Regions from separate parts of the Homo sapiens genome. Here region 2 is linked to region 1. Evidence: promoter capture Hi-C in human tissues and cell types (Jung and others, 2019). All regions are on one chromosome and are shown on one strand. Each heading gives the region's core, a stretch centred on a gene start or on the middle of the fragment in contact. The rest is flanking DNA. Distances are from core to core; before and after follow the strand shown. Region 1 holds the start of OR9I1 (olfactory receptor family 9 subfamily I member 1). Region 2 overlaps OR9Q1 (olfactory receptor family 9 subfamily Q member 1).

Evidence for each region. Contacts are between HindIII fragments. The study calls those that stand out against the background at their distance.
Region 2: a fragment that was not itself captured here is called in contact with the fragment with the promoter of OR9I1 in region 1 in 3 of the 25 tissues and cell types used here (neural progenitor cells, ovary and stomach).

Annotation. Positions count from the first base shown.
Region 1 is chr11:58,120,949-58,128,654 of GRCh38, forward strand. OR9I1 (olfactory receptor family 9 subfamily I member 1) reads right to left here and starts at 4,582. Exons shown (of 3, transcript NM_001005211.2): 1 at 4,326-4,582; 2 at 3,490-3,691. All of the region lies in intron 2 of OR9Q1 (olfactory receptor family 9 subfamily Q member 1), which reads left to right. The HindIII fragment of the contact is 9,927 bases long and covers 1-6,402 here.
Region 2 is chr11:58,161,480-58,168,606 of GRCh38, forward strand. All of the region lies in intron 2 of OR9Q1 (olfactory receptor family 9 subfamily Q member 1), which reads left to right. Among named protein-coding and RNA genes, the nearest start is that of OR9Q2, 24 kb to the right of the region's middle. The HindIII fragment of the contact is 7,939 bases long and covers 1-5,267 here.

The DNA of each region.
Region 1 (7,706 bases), core at 3,332-5,831:
ATCCCATTCATATGGGAATGCTTGCTAATTTAAGTCTTCTCTATATTTTGACTACGGGTTGATTCTACTATCAGTAATTTGTGTTTCTCTATTATGACTATGTACATGCCATACACAAAAAGACTAAATATTGTGATTGGATACACAGAAAAGGAAATGTCATTAAACTTCTGCTTCTGGGAGAATCTTTCAAACATCAAGTCAAATAAATGCTCCTTTCTTTTGATCTAACAAATTGGTTAAAATAATTATGTTTAGTTTGCTTTATATTTGAGTCATGGAAATTTTGCATTTCCTAAGATTTCCTGTTGCCATATGGTACAGATTTGAGTCACCTCGTAATACTGCATAATACCATGTTCCAAGTCCATCCAGGATACTCATTAAAATGCCTAAAGCCTTCCTTGGGAGAGTGTGCATGGAAGCCTAGGTTCCCATCTCTTTTTTTTCCCAAAGTCATCTCTACTCTCCCAGGACCTGCCAGAAACCTGGCAACAATCCTACTGGACAGGTGACATTAGTTTGTTTGTGTTTGAGAAGTGGAGATTGGAGAAATGAAACCATCCGTTGACCCACATGTAGAGGAGCCAGGATCCACAACCAAGTCTCCAGATTCCATTATCCTACACTGCTCCCCTTGAACCATTTGCCTGGCCTCCTTAATCTTACACCCCCAACTTCCTCAGGTTGGAATCTGCCAATTCAGAGTCCTTGAATCTAGAACTATGTTTGATGAAGCCATGAATATAGAAATTAGATTGTTAAGAAACTCTTTTCCTTGTAGCACAACTGGGAATTTTCTTTGCTGTGGCAACATGGGGATTGCTATTTTTGATAAAATCCATAGTAGTAAAAACTCATCATAATACCTCTTTCTACCTTCTTTCATACATTTTATATCCATAAATGTCTGTGATTGCCTCCACACCCCTGTAAAGTTGACTTGATTGATATTGTCATTATTTTGGCATTGAGACAACTGACAGAGGTTAATGACTTGTCCAAAAGTCAAATAATTAGCTATTTGCAGACTTGGGGATAACAGGCAGGTCCTCTGGCTTCCATGGGATCCCTTTTTTTACTTCTCTTTCACCTAAGGTCTAATTCCACTGGGACCTGCCAGGAAGAGGTTTTGAACTTGTGATGAGGCCCCATCTCTAGAATCATTGTGACTGCTTTATTCACTACATGGGTAGAGAGAGACAAGCAGCACACACTTTCATGAAAGGGCTCATGGTAGCTGTTCTTGGGTCTGGAGCTTACTTCAGCTCTAATCAGGGTCCTAGTGGGAGAGAGACATTGACAGATCACGTCAAACATGTCCCAGGGCTATTCCATCCACCTTGCTCCAGCAGCAGGGTCTGGGGACGAGTCAGCTTCTTTGGAAGGCCTTCATGGTATGGTTCAAGCTCTGTGGTTGTCACCTCTATGACAGGCACTCACTAGCTGAGTAAACTTCAAACGTTTATTTTCCCTTCAACATGGACTTCGCTTTCTATTCTATGAAATGGCAGAGCTAGGTTATATGACCACTGAATCTTTTGTTTCTCACAATCCATGATTTATATGTCTAGGTATTTAGGCTCTGTATCTACTAAATACTGAGTATATAAAGCAATGCAGGCACTATTTCAAGTGATTTATAGTTACTTAAACATAATATTTTGGGGCCTTAGGTAGAAAATTGAATGGCCTTTACTCCTCAGTTCCTGATAAACCATCATCATTGGTCAGGGCAAGGCTCTTCTTCATTTTATTTTATTTTATTATTTTTGTTAGTCCTGCCTCATTCTTACTCCTTCCCCTGTTCCTCTTAAGTGTGCACTCCAGTGTATTCAAAATACATATCCTTCTATGTTTATTCTTTTCATATTTATTTAGAAATATATGTATATTAAAATATAGTGGCTGTGGTGTGTTTTAAAATTTGTGTACATGATATTGTGACATAAATCTCATTTTTTAGCATACACCGTATTTTTGTGATTTGTTTATGTAATTGTGGTAAATTTTGTTTTTTTTTTCGGATTTTGTTATGGTCTTGCTTGGTATGCTTATAACATATTTTACTTATCAATTCTACTAGAGACTGTGAGTGCTTTGCATATATTATTTAATTCTGAAAGCAGCCCTTTAAGCAGATATTATGACCTTATTTTTACCAATGAGGAATTTAAATCTTTGGGAGATTAATTTGTCTAAAATTACCTCCAAGTGAAAGTAGAAGCAGAAGAGTTAGTTGATGGCAAATCCTCTGCTTTCAGCTATAAATTTGTTTTGTTGTCTCCCTCCATTTTCCTATATCTTTATAATCTATGGAAACAAAGAAATCTCCCTGCAGTTAATCAGAGCTTTTTTACCTTCAAATCATGAGATAACTTGGTTAATTTCAACACCTTTCTCAGTATCTACTTCTGAAATTGTTGTAGGTCATATTACATCTATCTCATGGCTAATTCCTGGGGGTCTCTCTGATTAGAGACACAATTGTTCAAGGCTCCTGACCAGAGATTAGGTGGCAGATTGTTGGGGTGCAGATGCAATCACACTGAGTTTGTGGCACATGCATGCAAGGCCTGTTTCATACATTAGCTCTAGTCCTTCCTGAAGCCCTCCAAGTTGGGTATAGCTATGACTATTTTATGGATGAACAAAGCAGAGTTCAGAGAAGTTAAGAAGGTTGTCCAACTTATTATACACCTAGGAAGGAACAGAACAGACATTTGAACCTAGGACATTCTAATTCCAAATTCTGTATTCTTTCCATCTTATCATGTTCTCTTTTTAGGGCATGAGAAAGACCCTTTATGCAGATCCAAGCCCCAAACCTTTAAAATCAAAGCGCCTCTCTAAAACCATTAGGCAAATACTCAACTTCTGTGGGCATCAAGTATAAAGATTGATGTTGGAGTTCTTTGTGGTCCATGTTTTTTCTTCTTTTTCTTTCTTTATAACTTGAGAGAGACTTAGTTGGACCATATCCCTCTTGATATACCCTTGGAAAACTGCTCAACCAATTGGAACCTCAATTTTTTCAATAATAAAATGAGAATATAGTAACGATTCTTGAAATAGAATGGATGTTTATCTAATATGGTAGAGCTTGCTTATTTTTCAGACAGGCAATTTCCAAAATATTTCCCAGAGGGAAAAATTTTAGGAGCAGACTGGTGACACCCAGTTTTGTGTGATCTTGTTTAAGAAGGAGATTGGGGTACCATCAGCTTGGGTGAGGCCAAGAGTAGAGAGAAACAACCAACTCCCCGAACCCAGGACAGTTTATGAAAGGGAAAGCAACGGTTTATGGCCAGTGACTCTTTTAAGAAAGCCTAGGAACATTTATAGGTTGATATTATTACTTGTGATATATTTAAATTATAATATGTGACATAAAAGAATATGTGACCTCTGGAGGGGATAGGGAAAAAGACTCCTCTAATTCAGGAGGAACCCTTTACAGAAGAGATGGTCCCTAACACTTGTACTTACTTTAACTTGGGATGTTCTCCATACTCTTCTTCATTTTCCTCCAAAGATTGAGTCCCTTGGGGAGGGTGAAGGAGCTCAACAAAGTTAATGTTTCTCACCTTACTGAAATCAGTGTCTTGAAATATTGTTGTTAACATTTGCTGAGCTCTTGCTCCAAGTCAGGTAGATGCTAAGCACTTTAAAGGCTTTTATTTCCTTTCAACTTGACAATAACATAATGAGAGAGAAATATTTTATTTTACAGATGAGGAAATGAAGGTTTAGAGACATTAGATGTTTTGCTTGAGGTTTCACAGCTAGAAAGAAAATATGTTTAAATTCTAACCCTGGTTCTCTGACCCCAGAGTTGGAGTGTTGAATCAACACGCTGTGCTGCTTTTCCTAATCCTGGCAACCATTTATCGAACATCTTCTCTGCGCTGATCACAATACTATGCATTGTAGACACATTAGTTCATATAATTCATACAATGATCCTACAAAAAAGGTATTATTTTGTCCTGGAAGAGACTAGGACTCGGAATAGTTAAGTACCTTGTCCAAGGTCACATGACTAGTCAATGAAAAAGCCTGGAGTCTAATCCAGGTCTGTCTTATTCCAAAGCCAGAGTCCTAGTACATATGACTAATTCTACTCCAGCATAATTACAGAAAGTAGAGTCATTTACAGGAAAATATCTTGTCTAAGCTCTGCAGTCTAGTACCACGCCTCCCACATGAAACTATTTATATTTTCTGAAATCTACTTAGTGACACAAAAGCCCAAAGAGATTAAAGCTGTAGATTCCCCCCTTACCCACCGCCCCCCCCCCAAAAAAAAGCTGATCCAGTCTTACTTGTATATTTCACATAAGAGCTGAAATCCCAGTCTGGTCATGGTCCTATCAGATGACAACTTCTGATGACAAAGGCAAGATTCTCTGCCCAGTTACACCTTCTCTAGTTTGTGTGGACCTTACTTCAGAGCCAAGGTAATAATTAAGTCTTAATTACCTGGTGGAATAATTCAGTTGGATTTATCTTGGCCTTGTAGTCAAGCTAAGCTAAGGTTGTTTAAGCATTTTGTAGAAAGCAGCTAAGATTGCTCAAATAGACGTATGTAGCTGACTGACTTTAGGTTTTCTTCTTACTAAGCAAACCAGTGGGATATTTAAATTGCCTTTGGGGATAGTTTTATGGGAGGGATGCAGTGATCTCAGTGGTTTTCCTTGAATCATGAATCAGGACCTGGGACAGCCCCTGGGACTCCAGAGAATAGCCGGCCCGGTCAGGGAGACCACACTTCAGCAGAGGCTCATTATCTCAGCTTCTGCACACTTCTGAGAGAATAAAAACAAATCTTATGGGAGCTCATGAAAACTCGTAAGCCTTGTTTGTCTCAAAGCTCAACTGCAGACTCTGCTGGGAATGAACTTGGTTTTTCTTTGCCACTGGCTCACCATTCCCAAAGTTACTCAGTGGTAATATCAGGACTGGAACTCAGATCTTAGGACTCCTGGTAAAGTTCTCTTTACAACACACTCATCCTTAGTCCTGATGTCAAGTCCCATATCAGGGGCTGAAACCTGGCTGCATTGTCTGCTCAGAATTTCAAGGAAGAGTGATTATTGGCTCAGGAAGGTATGAGTCTGGTGTGGTCTAAACATACTTCATTCATGTCTATACTGAGGAGCTTGTCAGCTCACCTTCCTTAAAGATCTATTTCCAGGGTTTCCATGGTCAACTCTCTAACCACTCCAGCTCTTGTCTCTTCCCTCGTCTCTGAAACCCATGATCTCTTTGTTAGAACCACATAATTTGGCACTGAACTCCACTTGTCTTACAGTGTTCATAGTTATTCTTTAGTGAATAGTCTCATCTCCTCTGCTGGATTGTGGGTTCCTGGAGAACCTATCTTTCTTCCTACTAATAACTTGGTTCCTGATTCAGTAGAACCTCTCTGTGTCCTATAAGCTTTCATCAGCTTTTTATTGTAGGATCAGAACTTTTCCAGCAGAAGAAATCTCAAAGAGGCCATGTGCTCTGTTTGCTTCTAAGTAACATGGCTGGGATAAAAAACCTTTGAAAATTAGCAAGCATTCAGGCGAACTAGGGTGGTTTTCATAATTGCAGATGCCAGATGCCAGTTGATACAAGAATATATTACAAAGAAGGGTGGCAGCCACAGATCAGGACTCCTGGCAGTTAGCACAAGAAATTCTACCTTCCAATACATTTTTGGACAATATTTATTATTTCCTATAATTAAATATCTATTGAAATAACTGTGTGGTAAGAGTATATGTAGTGTATTCTAATACTTCCTGGAATGGTATAGAAGGTAGAGTGGTAATTGGGACAGGGTGAAGGAATATGCCAGTAATAAGAATATTCCATTCAACATCCCCTGGGGAACTTGTAGAATGGGGTGACTATACAGTAGATATTACCTTCCTTCCTTTTGACACATTGGGGGATCTAGAGTGCTTTGATGTATAACATAATCATTACTATTGTTATCTTTAATATTGTTATTGTTATTGTTAAGCATTTCACCAGAGTCTTGCTCTGTCGCCCAGGCTGGAGTGCAATGGCATGATCTTGGCTCACTGCAACTCCACTTCCCGGGTTCAAGCGATTCTCTCACCTCTGCCTCCCTAGTAGCTAGGACTACAGGCATGTGCCACCACGCCCAGCTTATTTTTGTAGTTTTAGTAGAGACGGAGTTTCACCATGTTGGCCAGGCTGGTCTTGAATTCCTGACCTCGAGTGATCTGCCCGCCTCGGCCTCCAGAAGTGCTGGGATTACAGGCATGAGCCACCGTGCCCGGCCTCACTCCAGAACTTCTGTTTGGACTTTTGGGAAGAGATGCATCTTAGGTTAGCTTCCTTAAAAAAAGACCCGGGACAGAATTTTGGGCAAGTGCCTCACTGAGGGAGTGCTTGAAGGAGAAACCTGTAAGGGAGTGAATGAAACAGGAAATAGCTAAGCAAAGATGTAGGATGTAGTTTCAGCTGGAGGCTAGCTTTGGCCTGATTCTTAGAGTAACTCTGGAATGTGAATTATGCCATGGGCCTAGTTCTGCCTCCAGACAAGGGATTTGGCTTTTTGCAGCCCACACCAACCATCCATTGACTGTGGGCTGCCTCCAAGTGGTGTGACTTCCCAGGCATTCTGGGAAAAGTGGATCCCTTAGCTAATGGCAATTCTCCAGAGAAGGAGAGCTGTGAGCTCTTAGCAGCCAATACTCATAGCAGCTGCAGGTGGGTGTACTGATCTGTTAACTGGGATACTTAAAGATGCTCTTTTTTCCTGATAGAATTTTGAGTGTTTATATCTGGGGCTTCTGATGCCACTGAATGAGTGAAAATAGCCCAGAGAGAAGTTAAGAGAGGAAGAAAGGAAGACTGAGGTCTAATGAAGTTTGGACTTTTGGAAAACCCCAATGTCCAAGACTGCAGCCTGAGGATATTTGAATTTCTGAAGCAAGTCTTGCCTGGAGCTATCCAGATAAAGTGTTTTTGGTTACATCAACAAATTTCATTTTTTAATTTTTAAGTCAATTTTATTTGGCTTTCTACCATTTAAATTGAAAAAAATTTTTGACACTAACTCTGAAGTATTCATGGTTTTGTATGTTTGTATAGGCACTGGAATATCTAGAAGAATGTATACCAAACTGTCAAAATGAGCATCACTAGATATTATGAAAAGGGTATCACTTTCATAATCTTTGTGTAAGGATTTGTTAGAAAAATAATATATTAATAGAAAAAATATTTCAATATTTATAGTAGAATAGTAGGGGCAAACAGGTGAAAACAGCCAAGAAAAACTAAAAAAAAAAAAAAAAGAACAGTAGGAAGAGAGCAATTAACCTGCCTGATATAAAAGCTTACTATAAAGCTTTAATAATTAAAGCAATCTTTTTCAGATGTAAGAATTGGTAGATACATCAGTAGGACAAATGGCAAAGCTGAGAAACAAATCCAAGTATCCACGAGGAATTAGTATATAATAAAGGTGGTATTTTGCATTAGTGGAGAAAGAAATATTTATGGAATCATTGATAATGAAATGACTGGTTACGTATTTGAGAAGTTTGAACAGTATCTCACAGCTTATATCAAAACAAATGTCAGATCTATCGCGTTATAAAGAAAATATAAGTGAATCTTTGTCACTTTGTCATCACTCAGAGTGGGAAATTTACTTAACATTAAAAAAAAATTTTTGT
Region 2 (7,127 bases), core at 48-2,547, 37 kb after region 1:
CTTGGCTTCTGGATACACATATCCTTATAATAAATTTCCTTTTGTTTTTGTTTTGCTCAGGCTTATTCTGTTTTTTTTTTTTTAGACAGAGCCTTACTCTGTCACCCAGGCTGGAGTGCAATGGCACTGTCTAGGCTCACTGCAACCTCTGCCTTCTGGGCTTAAGCGATTCTCCTGCATCAGCCTCCCAAGTAGCTAGGAGTACAGGTGCCTGGCTAATTTTTGTATTTTTAGTAGAGATGGGGTTTCGCTCTGTTAGCCAGGCTGGTCTCGAACTCCCGGCCTCAGGTGATCCTCCCACCTGGGTCTCCCAAAGTGCTGGGATTACAGGCGTGAGCCACCGCACCCGGCCCTCTGGTTGATTTTTGTTACTTGAAACTAGAGAGTCCAAACTGTTATATCCAATTAATCAGAACCTCCTTGTTTCTCCAGAAAGCAACAGCAAGCTCAAGGTTCCTCAAAATAGCATTGCTCAGAGCTTTCCTCGCCTCCTTAAAGCATGTATAGAGCTCCACGTAGGTGCTAATTGGCAACTGGATACTGATCACACTGACTTGGTTAAGGTGGCTAAATAGCTTACTCATGCCATTCCTGTGTGGAACCTTTTGATTTATATTTTAGAGAAACAAGAAAACAAAGGAGTTCTTGAAGAAGGTTCCTAACAGTTACACTCACCTTCTTTGTAACTGTGTAACATGCTAACATACCATTATTGTCATTCATTACGAGTAACAAGAAGTCATTATAAGTAAAAATGTCCTAACTTCTCTGAGAAAATCACCTTTCATCTTTTGGAAATGTTACGTTTTGTTTGAATGTATTATCTGTAATCATACATGGAAGGAGACTCGCTCTAATAATGGGTTTTCACAGTGTTGAAACTCAGGCTTTCTAACTTGCAACAGTAGCAAGGTTGTGGTTAATGAATCCATGCTGCTAAAATTGTTTCAGAGCGAGGAATAGGAGGGAGCCTTGTATTGGTGAAGCTGTCTATGCCACGCTATGGTAGTTGGAAGAAAACCTTTCTGGGTCTTTGGAAAAGGTAGGGCACTAAGGGAAGGGTGATTTTATTTTCTGACGCTGTAAAGAGCAGCAAAGGCAGAGGAGTGAGAACAATGTTCACTACAGTACCAGCTGGTAATACTAAGAAGGTTATTTAATACCTTCTTTCTGAAAAAATGTGACATAAGAAAAATGAAATAATAATTCATATATTTTGAGTGCTTCCTATATGCCAGGTGAGAGACTAATGACATCTCTGTAAAGTTGGTGGGTGTCAGGTGAGTGACCTTGGGTAACCTTCATCCCTCCTACCCCATGTCTTTGTTACTGTTTCAGCAGAATGGGGAGAATCACATATTCTCGGATCTTCGCAGAGCTCTTCTGAGGACAAAATGGAAGGGACATTGTTCTGAAAGGTCAAAGGTATCCTGTAAATATAAGAGCTTAGCAAGTTTTCTTTCTTTGTCTCTTTCTCTAGTAAGAAAGATGGGGTGGAAAGAAAGTGAGAGAGAAGCTTTGTTTGGAATTTACAGAGGGGTGAATCAGATAGGCAATAAATACAATAAGTACATCATATGTTATGTTAGAAGGTGACAATTCCTATGGTGAAAATGAAGCCAGGGTCAGAAGAATAGGGAATGTGCAATTTTAAGTATCTTGCTCAAATTTTAATTTTAAGGTTCAGCTCAAATGCCACTTCCTTGGAAATCATCTCCCCTGAATTTTATCCTGGTATGGGAATGATTGATTACATATATGGCTTACCTCTAACAGTAAAGTATAAAATTTTTGAAGGCAGGAAATATGTGTGTGTATCTGTGTGTGTATAAATTTCAGCCCTGGTCTCTAGACCACCTTTCTTAATCAAAAATGAGAAATGATTGAATGTGCAGATGGTCCCCACCTGTCCCCTTCCTGGCTCCACCTTTGTCAAAGGAGTTTCCTCCTGACCTTGCTCTCTTCCTTTTTCTTGTCTGGACATTTTGAGACTCATAAAAAATGCATGTGCAGATGCTAAGAATAATTACCACAATTTCTCAGCTGCAGAGAGCTGGTAAAGGTCATGCCAACTTGCTGTCTGTGCCAGTTGCTTCTCTGGGCAGTGCACTTGTCCTAGTTATTTTTCCCTAAGGTTTTCTTTGTGTTAAAGATTAAAGGACAAACTTGATGAAGTGCCTGATTCCAGGGAGGGCAAACTAGAGGCTACAATGGGCCTTGCCTTTTCCTAGGTGGATCAGTTTCCATTCTACCTATTCTAGGTAAATAGCTGGGCAGGGGGCCGTTCTCCCAGGACACAGCTGGCGAGGGTGGCAGAGCCTGTGATTCATGACATTATTCTGACTGAGGAAACTGGACCTTGGAAGATAAATGATTCCTCATGGGACAAGTCAGAACTAGAATTCAGGCTCCCTTAACCATTCTTAGCGATGGCCCAACTGGGTGTACAGCTTTTAGAAATGGAGATTGAAGAGAAACCTTCTCTTTTCCTACATGAAAGGGGCTATTTGCATATAAATAATCCCAATATCAGCAGTAATCTCTCCTTGGAGACCCACACTGGCCACGGATTGGCTATGACAGTGTTGGGGCAAAACAAACTAGTAGAGTCTTACGCTGGAGCCGGAGCCTGCAGACAGAGGATATTCCCCCACCTTGTCTCGGCTTGCAGGGGTTGGGGGGATGCGCATGTAGGGATTTATGGGAAGGGAAAGAGGAGGAGAAGAGAATGATAAAATTAAATCCTTCCACGTTCCTGTCTTTAGGTGGCCAAATTATGATTATTTCATATTGCTTTGAGGAGTTAATAAGAAAAACGGATGATGATATGGAAGGCCAGAGTGATAAGAGACTTACCTGGGACCACATAGCTAGTCAAGGATGGTGGTGGGGATGGGGCAGGCGGTGGGAATGAAGAACCACGTGTCTGGTTGCCCATGCGGTGCTCTTTTTCTATATCCTCACCTTAAGATTACAATCAGTGAAAGAGCAGGGGTCATGAGCAGACAGAGAACAATGAACAAGGAGGTAAAGAGATTCTTCAGGGAAAGGTGAGATGGGTTTCAGGTGAGGAAACTGATCAGGTTCACCTGGTCCACACCCATCCCAATGCTGCCAAAGCAAACCTTCTTTACTTGTCATGTGCACAGTGACTGTTTCACATTGACCTTGCTGCCCAGGTGCTTTCAGCAATATCAAACATTCTCTCGGTAGTCCAACACTAGAATTTTGCCATGGCTGCTCTTAATTAATGAGCAAAAAATTCTTGCATCGTCACTTGTCAAATTGAATTATAAAATAGTTCCTTGGTCGCATGCTTGTTTTTTCTGCTAGACTCTGAACTCCTTACTGTCCTTTGAACACACCAGGCATGGTCTCGCCTCAGAGCCCTTGCATTTGCTGTTCCCTCTGCTAGCATGCTATCCCTCCAGATGTCTGTATAACTTGCTCTCTTCTCTCTTGATTCCTTCAAATCTTTGCTCACTTATTACCTTTTAATGAGGCTTTCTCTGATAACCCTATTGAAAATAGCAACCTCCTTAACTTTCTTTTCTGCTGTATTTTTCTGCATAGCACACCACTATCTGATATAATATATGTTTTCCTTTTGTGTTATTTTCTGTCACTCCACAAGAATGCAAGCTCATAGGAGCAGGGTTCTCCCCTGTGCCCCCATGCCTAAAGCAGTCCCTGGAAGATAATAAGTGCCCAGTGAATATTTGTGGACTAAATGACAAGTGAGTGAATGTACTCCTGCAGGTTAGACACATACATCATGGTTCCTGGCATCTAACACACGCTTAATGCCTACAGAGTGAAAGATAAATTGTGTTTCTTCCAGAAGTTCTATTTAAAACTGTCCCTGATCATTTAATATTACCTCCTGTGGCTTCATGACTCCTTGATCCCTTTTGTGAAGGGACTGTTTAGGCAACAGTCTCTCCCACATTCAGAGCCCTCTAATAAATTCTGTAGACATTTACTGAGCTGTTCTCTGATTCCCCAAATAGACTAAGTTGGCTAATTGTTTGCTCCTGCAGTACCCTCTCTGCTGTTTTTTGGAAGCGCACAAACCACTTATTGTTACTTGTTTGATGTCTGTTTTCCCCAATGGGCCTTAAAGGTTTCAATAGGGCAGGATCCATGTGAAACTTGCTCCCTGCTGTTTCCTGCACTTCCAGTCCACTATCTGACACTCGTTGGACAGTAAATGAGTATTTATTGACTGAAGGGGCCAGGTATCGTTAGCAGTGCCAAGGAGGGATTAAAATATGTTCTTTGACCCCAGGCACTGGATTGAGTAATACTTTAAAGACATTTCCCGCTCCCAAGTACCTCAGTGAGCATATCTTTTGGGAAATTCCTTCATCTGAGGATTTGACATTTACAAAATTATGTACCTTCAAAAGTTATCAGATTGAACAAAGGAATTCTGCTGTTTATTCAGCACAGGAAAATGATAAACTGCTACCCAGGTTTCTCTACATTTACAAATTTCTTCTCCGATGTCTTTCAGCTTGCAGGAAAGAGGCAGAGACGGTGGGTCACCAAAAAGTCTCCTTGGACTAACCATATAACGATGATAATGATGATTGCTACTAACTTTTTTTATTGCAATAGATGGGATCTGGTTAAATACATTGAGTGCACAGCCTAGGATTCTCACATATTTTTGTTAGCATTTTATCAATTCCCATGATTTATATTTTTAGGTAGTCTCTTTCTTTTAAAGACTTAATTGGGGTTATTACAAAAATAACACATTTTTGTTACAATAAAATGAAAGGATACATGCAAAGTAAAAAAGGGAGAGTGGCTCCTTTCTTTTACCTCTGTTTCCCAATCTTCTCGCCCAGAAGTAACTCCTATTAGTTTCGTATGAAACTTTTTATACTCATCAAACATTTATTTACTTTTTGTATTTCAACAAAAATTGTATCATATTTTATATCATCTTCTGCAACTTGCCATTCTACTTTACAATTACGGATGTCACTGTAACTTGTTAATTGCAAGTATCTCTTCTTATTAAAGGCTGCAGATTATTCACTTATTTCCCTAATTTTTTCCAATAACAAACAATGTTGCAATAGACATCTTTGAATGTGACTGGTTATGTACTCATGCTCAGCCTCCTGATGATAAATGGTTAGAGGTGGAATTGCTCATGGATTTGGGTTAATTTAGTCAAGGTGGAGCCCCATTTCCCACAATTTTATTTTTTGCATAGTTTGGTTCACTGTGGACTGCGGGAAACATTTGGCATGAGATTCAAAAGGAGGAAAGAAATGAAGTCGGAACCATATTCTTTTCATGCTCTGAGGATCAGTGAAGGGGACCAGGAGTAGGGGGTGGGAGGACAGGGAGACTGCTTGATTTCACACATTATTTATTTGTATACATGTATGGCTTACAAGTACAATTTTGTTACATGCATAGATTGTATAGTGGTGAAGTCAGGGCTTTTAGGGTATCCATCACCTGAACAACATACATTGTAGCATTAAGTATTCTCATCATCTACCCGTTTCCCACTCCCTCACCCTTGCAGGTCTCCATTGTCTGTCATTCTACATTCTATGTCCATGTGTACACATTGGCTTCCTTATTACCTTCCACTTATAAGTGAGAATATGCAGTATTTGCAGCAATGTGGATGACACTGGAGGCCATTATCTCAAGTGAAATTAATCAGACACGTAATTAATTTTTAAATATAATATGCCAACTGTTAAAATATTATTTATTAGTTTCTTTACCCCTGAATTTGACACTTCATTTTCATACATTTCTATATTTACTCGAGTTTGTTTTTAGTACTTTTCTGTTACACAAATATATTTTAACTCTAAAGTATTATTTAACTCAATTTCTTTAATTTCTGAAACTTTGGGGTTTATTTTGGTATCTGATAGGGCAAAATATCTCATTATTCTTTTTCAAAAATTTCTTTACTTTTCTTATGTATCTTGGGTTCTAGATAAACTTTTAGATCAGCTTGTCGTGTTTTATCAATATATCAGTCATCTATTGCCATATTAACTTACTGGCTTAAAACAATAAGCATTTATTATTGCTTAATTTTTAGTTGCGTCTATGGGTCAACTGACTATAAAGTGACTAGTGCTTCTGGTTTTAGCTGGGTAGGCTCATGCATCTACGGTCAATTGTGGATCAGGTTGGGGCTTGGCAAGGTTTTCTCACGTATTTGGGGGTTGCCTGGCTGCAGGTAGTCCTTGGCTGAAACAAGTGTGCTTTCCTCTATGTGGTGTCTCATCCTCCAACGGGCTAGCCCAAGCTGTTCCCATGGCAATGGCAAAGGTCCAAGAGTCAAAATAGAAGTAGAAGTGTGCAAGGTCTCTTGAAGCCTAGTTTCAGAAATGGCACACCATCCCTTCAGCTGCATTTTTTTGGATGAAACCATAAAACCAGCAAATATTCAAGGGTGGGGAAATAGACTCTATCTCTTGAAGGGTGGAGCTGCCATCACATTGCAAAAGGCATTCAAAAGGGAGGCTGTTGACTGAATTCATCAATACAATCAACACGGCAACCAAATAACATTGGCAAAAATCTCCTTGAGAGTTTTATTGGACTTGAATTAAAATAATAGATTTCATTCCAAAAACTGACACATGATAAACACTCATCTACCCACCATCCAGATTTGTCAAATCTTAACATTTTGCTTTATGTGTGATTTCAAAAATAACTCAGTAAAGATATTCTTGAAATCCTTTGTGTTCCAGTCTCTGATCCTAGTCCTTTGTCCTCCTGCAGAGCTAACCACTACCCTGAATTTGCTGTTAACATTCCTACACATGCTTTTATGTTTTCACTCCATATTTGTGTCTCCAGAATAACCAACAGTTTATTTGTATTTATTTAAAAACTTGACATCTGTGGTACCATACTGTTCTTATATTCAAATTGCCAGCAATTTGTTCAACATGACGGCTTTGAGATTTACCCATATTGATATACGTAGCTTCAGGTCATATTTAATTTTTTTGTTGATCTGGTATGGGTGAAGCATTCCTTCTCATAATTTAAAATCACCTCTACAAACTGTGTTTTTCTCATTAATCAATTCTAGTGGCATTTATTTGTTGTTTTTTTTTTTCCAA